4 separate regions of the Homo sapiens genome follow, and regions 2, 3 and 4 are each linked to region 1. The links are contacts of gene promoters, found by promoter capture Hi-C in human tissues and cell types (Jung and others, 2019). All regions are on one chromosome and are shown on one strand. The core of a region is centred on a gene start or on the middle of the fragment in contact, and the rest is flanking DNA. Distances in the headings are between cores, read along the strand shown.

The links. The method cuts DNA at HindIII sites, captures the fragments that hold promoters and counts their contacts. A contact is called where the count stands out against the background at its distance.
Region 2: a fragment that was not itself captured here is called in contact with the fragment with the promoter of JPH3 in region 1 in 4 of the 25 tissues and cell types used here (H1 embryonic stem cells, IMR-90 fibroblasts, mesenchymal stem cells and 1 more).
Region 3: a contact is called between a fragment that was not itself captured here and the fragment with the promoter of JPH3 in region 1, in 2 of the 25 tissues and cell types used here (H1 embryonic stem cells and bladder).
Region 4: a contact is called between a fragment that was not itself captured here and the fragment with the promoter of JPH3 in region 1, in 4 of the 25 tissues and cell types used here (IMR-90 fibroblasts, lymphoblastoid cells, mesendoderm cells and 1 more).

Annotation. Positions count from the first base shown.
Region 1 is chr16:87,600,572-87,604,221 of GRCh38, forward strand. It overlaps JPH3 (junctophilin 3), which reads left to right and starts at 1,937. Exons shown (of 5, transcript NM_020655.4): 1 at 1,937-2,957. The coding sequence starts at 2,576. LOC124903750 (a long non-coding RNA gene) reads right to left here and starts at 1,612. Exons shown (of 2, transcript XR_007065172.1): 1 at 1,441-1,612; 2 at 1-534. RefSeq lists an enhancer at 476-1,038. The HindIII fragment of the contact is 15,663 bases long and covers 1-3,650 here.
Region 2 is chr16:87,725,362-87,729,011 of GRCh38, forward strand. It overlaps KLHDC4 (kelch domain containing 4), which reads right to left. Exons shown (of 12, transcript NM_017566.4): 7 at 1,404-1,563. Among named protein-coding and RNA genes, the nearest start is that of KLHDC4, 39 kb to the right of the region's middle. RefSeq lists enhancers at 1-333, 1-55. The HindIII fragment of the contact is 6,423 bases long and covers 1-3,650 here.
Region 3 is chr16:87,512,604-87,516,253 of GRCh38, forward strand. ZCCHC14-DT (ZCCHC14 divergent transcript) reads left to right here. Exons shown (of 4, transcript NR_110943.1): 4 at 2,913-3,027. Among named protein-coding and RNA genes, the nearest start is that of ZCCHC14-DT, 20 kb to the left of the region's middle. The HindIII fragment of the contact is 8,088 bases long and covers 1-3,650 here.
Region 4 is chr16:87,533,755-87,537,404 of GRCh38, forward strand. No RefSeq gene overlaps it. Among named protein-coding and RNA genes, the nearest start is that of ZCCHC14-DT, 41 kb to the left of the region's middle. The HindIII fragment of the contact is 4,449 bases long and covers 1-3,650 here.

The DNA.
Region 1 (3,650 bases), core at 687-3,186:
TCCATGCAGGAATCCATGACCCTCCCTGGGGGGCTGGCTTCCAATAACATTACTTCCCACTTCCCGAGCGCTTACTGAGTGCTGGGCGCCTAGCTTTTGAATTCCCACGGTAACCCTATGGGAACTCTGCCATCTCCATTTTACAGATGAGAAAACTGAGCTCAGGGACATTAGGTGACTGCCCAAAGCCATACTGCTGGTGGGCCCCGGAGCCAAGGTTTCGACCCGAATCTCTTGAGGACAAGGTGCAGTTCCTTTGGCCCACACATTTACAACAGAGAAATTTCCATGGACATGAAACAGCCCAGAGATATTATTTCATACCCATTTAGATGAACAAAGTAAAATAAATGGAAAGAAAATCAGAAGTTTGAGGACACCAGTGCTGGCCAGGAAATAGAGAACCACAAACCCAGGCACACTGAAGGGTGAGAGGTCAGTTGCTCCAGGTGTTTGGAAAGCAATTTGGCAGCTTCCAATAAAGTCCAAGACGTAGCTGGTCCAATGATGCCACCGCAGACATTTAGAGAACTTCTGTAGAGGGGCACAGGGAGACAGCGCTAGAAAGCTCAATGAATCACTGTAACTGCACAAAACAAAACAAAGCCGACCGCCCTAAATGTTCCTCATTGACAGTGGGTGTATGAGGAGGTGACTGTCCTCCTGGCTGCTGGTACTCTGGGGAGGGAGCTTTGGTGCCCAAGGCAAGAGACTGAGGTTGAACTCTGGGACTCCCAGGAGGGGCTGATTTTTCTGAGAGCCCCGTGAGCCAAGAGTGGGGACCATCCTGATTCTCTCGGACAGGGGAAGATCTGAGCAGGGCTCCTGGCTGATTGGAGGCTCCGAATCGCACCTCTTCTCCTGTCCTAATCTCAGGCTCCAGGCCTGGCTTGCAGTTTCTGGCTCACCGCGCTGCGGTCACCGGCCCACACTCCCAGGAGCGAGGACCCTGGGCAGCCTCCACACCCCCATCAGCCCACTGCACCGGTCTGCTGCCATTTCCCGCACGCATTTCAGGAGGGCTGGGGACGCCGGCTTCTGCCTGAGGATTTATGGTCCAGGAAATGCATTTTAAATGGATCCCAGGATGCTCGGATCCAAGAATCAGACTCTCTCTTGTGCGTGGGAAGAGGGGCGGAGGGTGAGAGTATGTCTGGAGAGAGACCTAGAAACGCCCGAATGGCGGTCCCACTTTGCTCCCCAAAAGCGCGACCGTTCCCCGAGTGGGGGGGCGCTACCTGTTGGCCAGGGCGCAGGGCGCACGGAATTCGGGTGACTTTGCTCCAAGATACACGCGTGTGTCCCGACTCTCACTCAATTTATAGGGGAGAGGGACTCGCCAAATCCCTGTTTTCTGGGGTAAGCCCCCCTCCCCCCACTCTTGGACCCAAGCTGCCCGGAAGGAAGAAGGAAGCATTGTTTGTCACCGGAGAAAACCACCTGTGGTTTGCAAAGGGCCTCAGTCGAGTCAGGGGCAGGCGGGGCAGATCCGAGCCCGGCGGGAGGGGCGAGGCGCGGGGGCGGGCAGGGGCGAGGGTAGGGGCGCTCAGCTGGCAGGTCCTGCTCTGCAGGCCTCACCGCCCAGCTCCCGGGAGGGGGCCGAGGGCGCCCTGAGTGCTGCGCGCCTTCCCATGACGCAGTTCCTGTGCCTTTAAATCCCACTCCCGGAGGGGGCGGGGGCGCCCCGGCTGGACCCCGGTTTCCAGTCCGGCGGGGGCCCCGGGGAAGCCCAGGGCGGGGAGCGCGGGGCTGGGGGCGCGGAGGGCGGGGCGCCCGGGGTCCCCGCCCGCGCGCCGCGCCCTAGCCTGCTGGGCCGCGCCCCTCTTGGGACCGCCGCGCTCCGGGGGCGGGGGCGGGGGCGGGGGCGGGGGGCGGGGGGCGGGGGGCGGGCGGGGGCGCGCGGGCGGGCGGGGTGCGGGCGCGCGCCGCGCGGCCCGAGCGCGCGAGCCGGGCCCGGAGCGCACGCCGCCGCCGCCACCGCCGCCGCCGCCGCCCGAGCCGCCGCATTGCTGCTGCTGCTGCCGCCGCCGCCCCGCGCCCGGCCCGCGGCCCCCAATATGGTGCAGCCGCCAGCGCCGCCGCCCGTGCCGCCGCCGCCGCCCGCGGGCCCCGCCGCCGCCCTCGGGCGCCCGCAGCGCGGCAGCCGCAGGTGGGGGGCCGCGGCCCGGGCCTGAGCTGCCCCCCGCCCGGCCTCGGCGCGGCGCCCTCCCCGCGGGGCTGCCGGCGAGGGGCCCTCTCGCCGCTGAGGTGGAGCCGCGGGCCCCGCCGCCGCCGCTCCTGCCCCCTCCCTCCCTCCTCCCCTCCCCCTCCCCTCCGGTCCTGTCTCCAGCGGGAGCGCGAGACGCTGGTCAGGCTCCGCGGCGCAGCTCGAAAAGGAATAATCGCCCCCGATTGACTGAAATTCCTCCGGAGCCGGCGCCGCGGCCGCCCGCGCCCGAGACCGCGCTCCGGGGCCGCGTCCTCCTCTCCTCCGGAAAACGCTCGCGACCCAGGGCCGCCGGCGGCCGCGACTCTGCTGTGTCGATCGCCTGAGTCCGTTTTCACCGTTTGCGGGATCTGGAACCGAGTTACATGCATGTCCAGTGGGGGCAGGTTTAATTTTGACGACGGAGGGTCCTACTGTGGAGGCTGGGAGGACGGCAAGGCGCACGGCCATGGCGTCTGCACCGGCCCCAAGGGCCAAGGCGAATACACCGGCTCGTGGAGCCACGGCTTCGAGGTGCTGGGCGTCTACACCTGGCCCAGCGGCAACACGTACCAGGGCACCTGGGCGCAGGGCAAGCGCCACGGCATCGGCCTGGAGAGCAAGGGGAAGTGGGTGTACAAGGGCGAGTGGACGCACGGATTCAAGGGGCGCTACGGGGTGCGGGAGTGCGCGGGCAACGGGGCCAAATACGAAGGGACCTGGAGCAACGGGCTGCAGGACGGCTACGGGACCGAGACCTACTCGGACGGAGGTAGGTGCCGCGGGCCGGGCCGGGCCGGGGCGGGAGGGACGTGCTTCCGATCGCGCCCCTTCTGTGGATCTCTGGGGAAGTTGAGCTGCGTCCTCCGGTTGGGCCGTGGGCACCAGGGGCCTTTCCCGGGCTTCCCTGGAAGCCACGGCGGCTCCTGGCTACAGGTTGCCCCGCTGCCTGGTGGGGACAGTGCCCCTGTGCCAGCTGAAGGGTGTTGGGGGCTTTCCAGGGGCAGAGCCAGGCGGGGCCCAGCAGAGCCTCCGTGCGTCGGACACAGCAGGCCGGAGACCTGCGGGAAGGGCCAGGCTGGGCCCGCGGCCCTGGGGAACCCAGCAAGGGCAGAGGGGGCTGGGAGAAGGGCCCCTCCCCTTGTTGGCTTTGCCCCCCACCCTGGAGGCCGCCCTTCGATCAGGCCCCAGCTTCGCTTCTGGTGTTCCTGCGGCGCCCGAGGGCCTTCCTCAGCCCCGAATCTGCCCAAGCCGAGAGAAAGGGAGTGATGGGGAGCGCTAGGGGCGGGGGATGCCAACCCGAACCAAAACAGCCAGGCAGTACACTTCTAGGTGGTTGGACGCGGACTAGCGCTGTCGAAGCAGGCTGCTGGAGGGAGGAGGGAGGCCCATCTGCTCAGTGAGAGCCCAGGAATCTCGTCTTTCAGTGGCTGCATCGTTTTCACCATTAGTTGAGGGAATCGAT
Region 2 (3,650 bases), core at 437-2,936, 120 kb after region 1:
TCACAGTGTTAGCCAGGATGGTCTCGATCTCTTGACCTCGTGAGCCGCCCGCCTCGGCCTCCCAAAGTGCTGGGATTACAGGCGTGAGCCACCGCGCCCAGCCTAAGCATAGCAAAATCTTAATAGCAGGATCTAGGAGGAGTATACAGGTGTTCCCCGTAAAATTCTTTCAAAAGTTAGCTGTGGTTGAAAATTTTCAAAATACAAAGGATTTTTTAAACCCCTACAGTGAGATACTACTTCATACCTCTCAGATTCACAGAAATGTAAAGGTTGGCAGAGTGTGAAATGGGAGTGAAGCAACAGGAACACTTGAGTTCCGAGGACAGAGCCTGTGCCAGCCGCCTCTGTGAAGCACACGCCCCACGAGCAGCAGGCACATGTGAGGAGCACACACTCCACGAGCAGATGCCAGTACACGTGCAGAGCACACGCCCCAAGAGCAGGAGGCTCCGGGGTGGGCGCGAGAACATTCCTGTCAGCACTGTTCTCAGGTTACCAAAGAAACAAGCCCGTTAACAGGAGCGAGGAGAATTTCATTCCACAGAGACTACTACACAGTAGTGAGCGTCCATGGTGCAGGAAGGAGACCCTCAGAACACAGAATCGCTCACACTGCACTGCTGACAGGGGTGTGGAGAACAGAACAGGGCCCTAACACGGCACCAAGTTCACAGAGGAGCCGATTAACACTATCTCTATTTCTAATTCTATACAAAGAACTGTTTATATTCAACCAATGAGTAATCCCATGTGAAAGCTTCAATGTTCATGAAACTGAAGAGACCACAGACAGCAGCGCCTATTTTCCCACGCCGCAACTCACCCGTCTCCCCACCCCGCGCCTCGCCCGTCTCCCCACGCCGCGCCTCGCCCGTCTCCCCACGCCGCGCCTCGGCCCGTCTCCCCACGCCGCGCCTCGCCCGTCTCCCCACGCCGCGCCTCGCCCGTCTCCCCACGCCGCGCCTCGCCCGTCTCCCCACGCCGCGCCTCGCCCGTCTCCCCACGCCGCGCCTCGCCCGTCTCCCCACGCCGCGCCTCGCCCGTCTCCCCACGCCGCGCCTCGCCCGTCTCCCCACGCCGCGCCTCGCCCGTCTCCCCACGCCGCGCCTCGCCCGTCTCCCCACCCCGCGCCTCGCCCGTCTCCCCACGCCGCGCCTCGCCCGTCTCCCCACGCCGCGCCTCGCCCGTCTCCCCACGCCGCGCCTCGCCCGTCTCCCCACGCCGCGCCTCGCCCGTCTCCCCACGCCGCGCCTCGCCCGTCTCCCCACGCCGCGCCTCGCCCGTCTCCCCACGCCGCGCCTCGCCCGTCTCCCCACCCCGCGCCTCGCCCGTCTCCCCACCCCGCGCCTCGCCTGTTTCCCGGTCCCACGCCTTGCCTGTTTCCCCACCCCCCGCCTTACCTGTTTCGAGTAGCCCCCATAGACGACGATGCCGCCCTGGGGAGTGACGGACATCTGGCAGCCTGATCTGGGTGTGGGCCCCGTCCCTGACGGGGACAGCTTGCTCCATGTGAAGGTGTCCAGATTAAAGGCATACACGTCGTTGTAGTAGATGTAATCCCTGGTTAGAAGAACAGCAGCTGTCAGGGTCCGTAACATTGGGAAAAGCCCTGACATTAAAAACTGAACTGATTTAAATTAAAGGTAAATTTCCTACTGTTTGGGGAAAAACTCAAACCATTTTTCTCCTCTGCTCTTACACCAACACAACAATCAACACAGAAACGTGGCCGCTTTCCCTGCAACGAGCCAGAGACGCCAGTCAGGTCTCCTCAAACTCAATCTTGACGCAATCTACCTGGAGACAGGGCAACATTTTCACCTGTTTAATTCAAGTTTGAATTGATATGAAAGGACCACAAGCACGTATGAGTTTGCATTTGAAAACCGGAAATAATGCTGGCCCACAGAGGCAGAGGAATTTAATCTGAAAGCCATACTGCGTTTTCTTACACAGTTAACACAATCAGAGACAATTCCATTAGGTTATTAGGTGTGCAACCGTAAGGGCAGCAGTGAATGGCGCCTCCAAAGGGATGATCAGAACGGAGGTGTGAGCAGCCTGGCAGCAAGGGTGGTAAGGCCCCACAGTGGACTGGAGGGGTGAGCGAGGGGACTGGGCGCTCCAGGGAAACTGAAGACCACAGAAGCCGACCCTCTGTGCCCGAAATCACAGCGCGGCAAGGAGGCCCCGCAGCCTTGCCCTGCTCAGTGCCTGCCGGACCCAGCACGCAGACTGGGCTGAACAGGGAAGTGGCAGCTTTGCTGGAGGCATGGGGAGACTCGGAGGCGCACCCAGAAAGTCCTGTCCTAATGTGGAACTTTGACACAATTATCGTGAAAGCGTAAGGGGCTGCTCTCCAGCTACTCAAAAAGGAGAGCCAAACTCATTTTTTAAGGAAAGCATGGAAGAGCAAGCAGCTCTAGCCCAAGTCTCAAGTGCCCGGTTTTCTCCTGTTTGTTCCTGTTTTGTGTGAAGCAGGAAAAGTCACAGGGCGTTTACCCAGCACCAGCTGCCACATCTGGTCTTAAGATAAACAGCCTGGGCACAGTGGCTCACACCTGCAATCCCAGCACTTTGGGAGTCTCAGGCAGGTAGATCACTTGAGGCGAGGAGTTCAAAAACAGCCTGGACAATATGGTGAAACCTTGTCTCTACTAAAAACACAAAAAATTAGCCAAGCATGGGGGCGGGTGCCTATAATCCCAGCTACTCAGGAGGCTGAGGCACGAGAATAGTTTGAACCTACGAGGTGGAGGCTACAGTGAGCTGATCACGCCACTGCACTCCAGCCTGGGCGATCGAGTGAGAATCTGTCTCAAAAAAAGAAGAAAGAAAAGATAACCTGACCTTGCTGACTGCAACTCAGACTGACCACATCCTTCGCAGGACGATGGCTCTTAATATAGATAGAATCTGAGGAATGTGGAAATGTGGAAGCGTGTAATCTTTAAAAGACTGCTACAGACCACTGTTTTTTTCAGATTTCACGTCGCAGATTTTTAGTACAAAGATTCTACTTTGCACGTAAGATAAATACAGAATATTTTCTCTATAAATGCAGAATAGAGTTTAAGGAAAACTCCCAAGTTGGTATTTGAATAATTTTAAACAAGATAACAACAGCTTTGAAAAAAGTTCTGATTTTAAAATGGTTGCAAGTTAAAACAAACATGAAGCATGATTTGATTTATAACCTGTAAGTTCAAAGGAGGAAGGGGCTGTACAATCTCACTGTCCTACACATAGTAGGTAATGAATTAATGCTCTGACAAACTTATGTGTGCATTCTGACAATTATTTGTTTTAAAATAAATTTTAAGAATGAACATAAGGCTAGGCGCGGGGGCTCAAGCCTATAATCACAGCACTTTGGGAGGCCGAGGCATGTGGATCATGAGGTCAGGAGTTCGAGACCAGCCTGGCGAACATAGTGAAACCCCGTCTCTACTAAAAATACAAAAATTAGCTGGGCATGCGGCTCACTTCAACATCCGCCTCCCCAGTTCAAGCGATTCTCTTGTATCAGCCTCCCGAGTGCCTGGGATTAAAGGTGTGCACCACCACACCTGGCTAATTTTTTGTATTTTTTAGTAGAGATGAGTTTTTGCCATGTTGGCCAGGCTGGTCTCAAACTTCTGGCCTCA
Region 3 (3,650 bases), core at 709-3,208, 88 kb before region 1:
TCCTGCCTCACCCTCCCCAGTAGATGGTATTGCAGGTGCGGGCCACCACACCTGGCTAATTTTTATATTTTTGGCAGAAACGAGGTTTCCCCCATGTTGGCCAGGCTGGTCTCGAACTCCTGACCTCAGGTGATCTGTCCACCTCAGCCTCCCAAAGTGCTGGGATTACAGGCATGGGCCACTGCGCCCTGCCCTTATTATTATTATTTTTTTTTGTGGAGACAAGGTCTCACTGTGTTGCCCAGGTTGATCTTGAATTCCTGGCCTTAAGTAATCCTCCCACCTTAGCCTCCCAAAGCATTGGCATTAAAGGCATGAGCCACCACACCCGGCCAAGATACATAACTTAATCACATCTGCAAAGTCCCTTTTACCACATGAGGTCACATCCACAGGATCTGGGGATTAGGACGTGGGCATCTTTTTGGGGGCCGTGATTCACTCTGCCACAGTGGGTACACAGCAAGCCAATGATGGGGGTAATTAAGTTAGCATTAAATATCCCACGTGTTCTATGTTCTAGAGCAGTGATCATGCCCCTGGGGTGTGAGGTGATCCACTGAGGACCAGGAAGAAGAGATGAGATTATTGCTTAAGATTAAGCAAGAAATCAGGTTTTATGAATATTGACTCTGAGCTGACACTGGCTCTCTGTACCCATGACAGTCTAGTCAGAAAAACAGAAAACGCACTGGTTAGTTTAGCAGAGAGAATTTAATATTGGGCATTGGTGGAATGAGGAATGGAGGACTAAAGAGGCAGAAGGGGGACCTGAGGTCACAGGCAGGGACACCCCTCAGGCTTGGTGGCACTGCGGTGGTGGCTTCTCAGCTGTCACCCAAGGGAACCTTGCAGGATGAATGGGAGTTTCACGGTGAAGTCCCATCTGACAGTTTGTTAGCTCTTTTTTTTTTTTTAAGTGAGACAGGGTCTTGGTCTGTCAATCCAGGCTGGAGTGCGGTGGTGCGATCTCAGCTCACTGCGACCTCTGCATCCTGGGCTCAAACAATCCTCCTGCCTCAGCCTCCCAAGTAGCTGGGACCAGAGGCATGCGCCAACACACCTGGCTAATTTTTATATTTTTTGTAGAGATGGGGCCTCACTGTGTGGCCCAGGCTGGTCTTGAACTCCTGGGCTCCAGCAATCTGCCCACCTTGGCCTCCTAAAGTGCTGGGATTACAGGCGTGAGCCACCACACCTGTCTGTTACATCTTAAAATATGGCAACATACGTTGGTGAAGTATTGGCTTACCAGAGTGGATCTGTAGCTGCTGGTACCTATCTTGTCTGGTTCTAACTAAATTCGGTGTATGCCTTAAAAAGATTCATACAAAGGAACTGTGGAATGAAGGAAACACTAACAAGCCAAGCAGAGTAAAGAGTGAGAACGCATCAGAGCAGCTGTCTTATTCCTGGCCTGTGCTCTTGGTCAGACATATCCCAAGGTAAAAACAAAGGCAGCCAGCCAGTCAGCCCGCAGAGGACAGTCACACGAACCCTAATTATCCAGAAGTCTAGTCGAAGTACAGATTAGAAAATCCATCATTGTTGACAATAATCCTCACCCCAAATGCATATTTTGCCTTGAGATGTAATGGAAACCATCATAATTAGCAAGACATTAAAAAGAATATTGTTTGTTTAATCTTTTACTTGGCATTTAGAAATTTCCATTTTGGCTGGGCGTGGTGGCTCACGCCTGTAATCCCAGCACTTTGGGATGCCGAGGCGGGTGGATCACCTGAGGTCAGGAGTTCAAGACCAGCCTGGCCAACATGGTTAAACCCCGTCTCTACTAAAAATACAAAAATTGGCCAGGTATGGTGGTGTGCACCTGTAATCCCAGCTACTCAGGGGGCTAAGGCAGGAGAATCTTGAATCTGGGAGGTGCAGGTTGCAGTGAGCCAAGATCACACCACTGTACTCCAGCCTGGGCAACACAGCAAGACTCCATCTCAAAAAAAAAGTCCATTTTGTTAGGAGTTTTATGATTATACATAAAATATGAGAGCAGCAATGCATATATATAATTCTTAAGTTTTAAGATACACGTATATGGTGGGCACCTGCGGGAAAGGTTTTGCCCATTAGGATCTATGATCTAAACACTTTGGAGACTCCTGCCCTGAAGAATTCATGTCTATGAGCTATCCAAAAACCCAGACCAGGCCGGGCGTGGTGACTCATGCCTGTAATCCCAGCACTTTGGGAGGCCAAGGCAGGCAGATCACTTGAGGTCAGGAGTTCAGGACCAGCCTGGCCAACATGGTGAAACCGCATCTCTACTAAAAATACAAAAATTAGCCAGGTGTGGCAGTGTGCGCCTGTAATGCCAGCTACTCGGGAGACTGAGGCAGGAGAATCGCTTGAACCCGGGAGGCAGAGGTTGCAGTGAGCTGAGATCATGCCATTGCACTCCAACCTGCACAACGAGAGCAAAACTCCGTCTCAAAAAATAAAAAAAAAAAGCTCAGATTAAACAATGATTATAGATGTTTTATGAAATCAATCAAGAAAGTTCATAAAGAGGATGACCACAATTTTTTTTCTGTCTGCAAGATCCGTATTTGTTGTTCTGTGCCACATTAATGATTACATAACAATTATATAATGTATATATCCAGGCCTTGATAATTGCCATTGTCTACAAGATGCTCTAGAAGTCCAAAGGGAAAATGAGCCTGAGAAAGTCCAATAGGGCTTCACAGAAAAGGTGGCATTTAAACTAGGCCTTGCTTGGAGCTGGAGAGTTCCACATGGCTAGGGAGGCCTCACAGTCGTGGTGGAAGGTGACAGGCAGGTCTTAATTAATGAAGCTTTAAATGTTTTTTCATTGGGGCCAGGCATGGCAGCTCACACCTACAATCTCAGCACTTCAGGATTACTTTTTTTTTTTTTTTTTTTTTTTTAAGCAGAGGGTCTGTAACTTTCACCAGATTCTTAAGGAGTCTGTGACCTGGGAGAGTTTTAAGAGTGGGAAAGCTGTAAGGCCACGCTCAGGCTGGATTCCAGCCGTGGGACCCCTCGCTTCACTTCTCTGAGCCTCAACTTCCTCATCTGTGCAATGGGGCAGCCTCGTGGACATGCAGGATTGCAGTTCTGGACATGCAGAGCCTGGCATCCAGAGGAGCCCAGCGCCCGCCAACTGCAGCACCCAGCACCAGCAACCCCAGGGTTGGGGGCTGACTCCATTCTTCTCCCCAGGGCTACACCAGCTCTAGCTTCCTGGCCGCCAGTTTCCCCAGCAACTTCATTTTGTTTATTTGCAATGGCTTATTGGGGTCTCCTGGAGAAAAGATTCTCAGCTGAGTTCCAGAAAATGAACACGCTCTCCCCGTGCTCGGAGAGCTCCCAGCTGTTCTCTTGGCTGGCCGGCTCAGAAGAAATGATGTTAGGAATGTTTATCTCGGAGGAAGCGGAAGAGCTCCTTTCAGCAAAATAAGAATGAACCACAAAACAGGGTGCAGGGGGCCTTGTCAAGGCATCATAGCGTGGTGCCATGGGAACATCCCCTTCCTTTGTCCTGCCTCAGCTGACAGTGCCTCGGAGATGCCCTGAGCTACGTCAGCCCGGCTGGCATCCAAGGGGTTCCTTATTGGCTCACAAGACACGTTGCTTTTTCAGGACCAGAGAGACTTGGAGGTCCTCAC
Region 4 (3,650 bases), core at 667-3,166, 67 kb before region 1:
TTCAGATGCCAACTGAGAGTCTGGGCCTCCCTCCAGACTGATCAGCTATGATTTATAGCTGATTTAGGGGTTCCCATGACCCCCTCCTCAGATTCAATAATTGGCAAAACTGGGCACAGTGGCTCATGCCTGTAATTCCAGCACTTTGAGAGGCTGAAACAGGCAGATCACATGAGGTCAGGAGTTTAAGATCAGCCTGGCCAACATGGTGAAACCCCATCTCTACTAAAAATACAAAAATTAGCCAGGCATGGTGGTGCATGCCTGTTGTGCCAGCTACTCAGGAGACTGAGGCAGGAGAATTGCTTGAACCTGGGAGGCAGAGGCTGCAGTGAGCCAAGATGGAGCCACTGCACTCCAGCCTGGGTGACAGAGCAAGACTTTGCCTCAAACAAACAAACAAAAAGTTGGCAAGAATGACTTACAGAACTCAGGGAAACACTTTGCTTATTTTTACTGGTTTATTACAAAGGATATGACTCAGGAACAGCCAAGTCATGGACAGGGTGGGATGGACGGGGTGGAATAGACGGGGTAAGTAGGGGAGGCGCAGGAGGGGTGCAGAGCTTCCATGCCCTCTCCAGGTGCACTGCCCTCCCTGCACCTTGATGTGTTCACTAACCCCACCCAGAAGCTCTTTGAAACCCCCTTCCAGTCATTGACAGGTGTTTTGGAGACCTCATTAGACAGGTATGATTGATGACATCATCAGCCATTGAGGATTAAGTCGATCTCCAGCCCCTCTCCCCTCCCTGGAGGTTGGGGTTGGGGAGCAGGGGGACTGAAGTTCTAACCCTCCTCTGGCAACCAGCCCCCATCCTCCAAGAGTCACCTCATTAGCGTAAACTCAGATGTAGTTACTAATAATGGTTTGGATATTTGTCCCCTCCAAATCTCATATTGAACTTTGACCCCAGTGTTGGGACTGGAGCCTGGTTGGGGGGTGTTTGGGTCATGGGGGTGGATGCCTCATGAATGTCTTGGTGCCGTCCATGCAGTAATGAGTGAGTTCTCGAGAGCTCTCGCTCTAGCAGTTCCTGAGAGAACTGATAGTTTAAAAAGCCTGGCAGCTTCCCCCGCTTGCCTCTCTCCTCTCCACATGACACCTGCTCCTTTTCACCTTCTGCCCTGAGTGGATGCTTCCCGAGGTCCTCACCAGATGCAGATGCTGGTGCCCTGCTTCCCATACAGCCTGCAGAACTGTGAGCCAAATAAACCTCTTTTCTATATAAATTATCCAGCCTCAAGTATTCCTTTACGGCAACACAAACGGACGAAGAGAGTTGTCATTATGAATAACCGAAGATGATCTTCCCACCCTTATTGCTCAGGGAATTCTGAGGATTTTAGGAGCTCTGTGTCCGGAACCAGGATGGAGACCAAATATATATTTCTTATTATATCACAATATCACAAAGCCCTTTGCAGATTTGCTAAGTCACATTACAAAGGAACCTGTATACAGGCCACCTTACTTCAGCTCCAAACCGAGAATCACTTTCCCCCCAACCACATCATCCCCCTAGTCATCTGCCCTCCAAATCTGCATTTTTCCCCTATCATTGTTGCAACAAATTACCACAAACTAGTGGCTTAAAACAGGACACATTTATTATCTTAAAGTTCAGGAGTTCTGAAGTCTGAAACGGGCCTGCTCCTTCTGGACACTCCAGGGGAGAATCTGTCTGCTTGCCTTCTGCAGTTCCTAGAGGCTGCCTGCATTCCTTGGCTCATGGCCCCTCCTCTGTCTTCCAAGCCAGCAGGATGGCATCTTCTCTCCTTGCTGACTTCTGCCTCCCTGTCACCAGGATCCCTGTGATGACATTGGGGCCACCAGGATAATCCCAGATAACCAGCCCCCCGAGCTCAAGATTTGTAAACCACATCTGCAAAGTTTCTTCGGCCAAGTAAGGTAAATTACTTGGTAATTTTCTTGGCAAGGTAGATATCCACAAGTTCTGGGGGTTAAGATATGGACATCTTTGGGGGTCACTATTCTGTCTACCATAGACTCTCACACCCTTTCCTTCCAACCCAGGCGTTTCCAGACTTCTTCAAACACATTCCTCTAGGAGTTTTTGTTTGCTAGTTTTAAAGGAGCATGCCCCAAATACATGATTAAAAGCCTGGACCGGCAGCCAAACTACCTCAATTCAAATCCCAGCTCTCCTGCCTTCTCATTGTTCTACCTCGGCCAATCTGCTTCACCTCTCTGCACCTCTGTTTCCTCATCTGCACGATGCAGGATGTCTCAGCTCCTGCTGCCATAACACAGATGCCATAGACTGAGTGGTTTAGACTTCACAGTTCCAGAGACGGAAGTCCAAGATCAGGGAGCCAACAGGGTCAGGTTCTGATGAAGCTTTCTTCTGCCTTGTAGTTGGCCACCTTTTCCTAGGTCCTTACGTGGCATAGAGGGAGGGAGGGAGAGAGAGAGAGAGAGAATGTGCTCTGATGTCCCTCTGATGAGAATGTTACCGGTGGAAAGTGTCCAGGTTCTTGGCATCTTGAACAAATAAATGGACAAAATGTGCAAACAAATCAAGAAAGGAATGAAGCAACAAGAGCAAAGATTTATTGAAAATGAAAGTACACTCCACAGGGTGAAAGTAAGCCCCGGCATAGGGGCTCAAGGGCCCCAGATACTGTATCTTCTCGGGTCCAAATACCCCCTAGAGGTTTCCCAGTGGCCACTTGGTGTTCACCCCATGTAAATGAAGTGGCGGCCTGCAATCGGTCTGATTGGTCAAGTGAAGTTACAAAGCTCACACTCCTATGCAAACATCTGATTGGTTGTGGAAAGCACACAATCAGAGGCTGAAGTGAAGTTACAAAGTTACATTCCAATACAAACGTCTGATTGGTTGCAAAAAGCGATCAATCAGAGGTACTTTCAATTTCCCATCTGCCTGGCAGAAAAGGTAGGGGTTTGCAAAGGGGTAGCCTCTGGTCCTTTTGTTATTTAGATGTGGAAAGTTAGGGCTCTCCTTTCAATTTAGTTCTAGGAAATCAGCGTGAAAGAGCCTTAGGTTCCCTGCCTCCAGACGCTATTCTCCTGCCTCAAGGATACCGATATGGCTTGGCTCCGTGTCCTCACCCAAATCTCATCTTGAATTTAATCCCCAAGTGTTGAGGGAGGGACTGGGTGGGACGTGATTGGATCATGTGGGTGGTTTCCCGCGTGTTGTTCTTGTGACAGTGGGAGTTCTCACGAGATCTGGTGGTTTTATAAGGCAGTTTTCCCTGCTCTCTCTTGCTCTTCTCTCTCCTACCGCCTTGTGAAGAAGATCCTTGCTTCCTCTTCGCCTTCCTCCGTGATTGTAAGTTTCCTGAGGCATCCACAACCATGTGGAACTGTGAGTCAATTAAACCTCTTTCCTTTATAAATTACCCAGTCTTGGATATTTCTTTATAACAGTGTGATAACATGCTAATACAGATACTAATCCCTACCTTATCTGGGTCTTGCCCTCACGGCCTCGGCAAACTTTAATCACTTCCTTATTCCAAACAGTCATACTGGGGGTGAGGGCTTCAACATATGAATTTTAGGGGCACACAATTCATAGCAGAGGGTAATAATATCTCCCAGAGTCCTGAGGAGTAAATGAGTGAATATGCTTACAAGGCTTAGAACAGGGCTGTGGCAC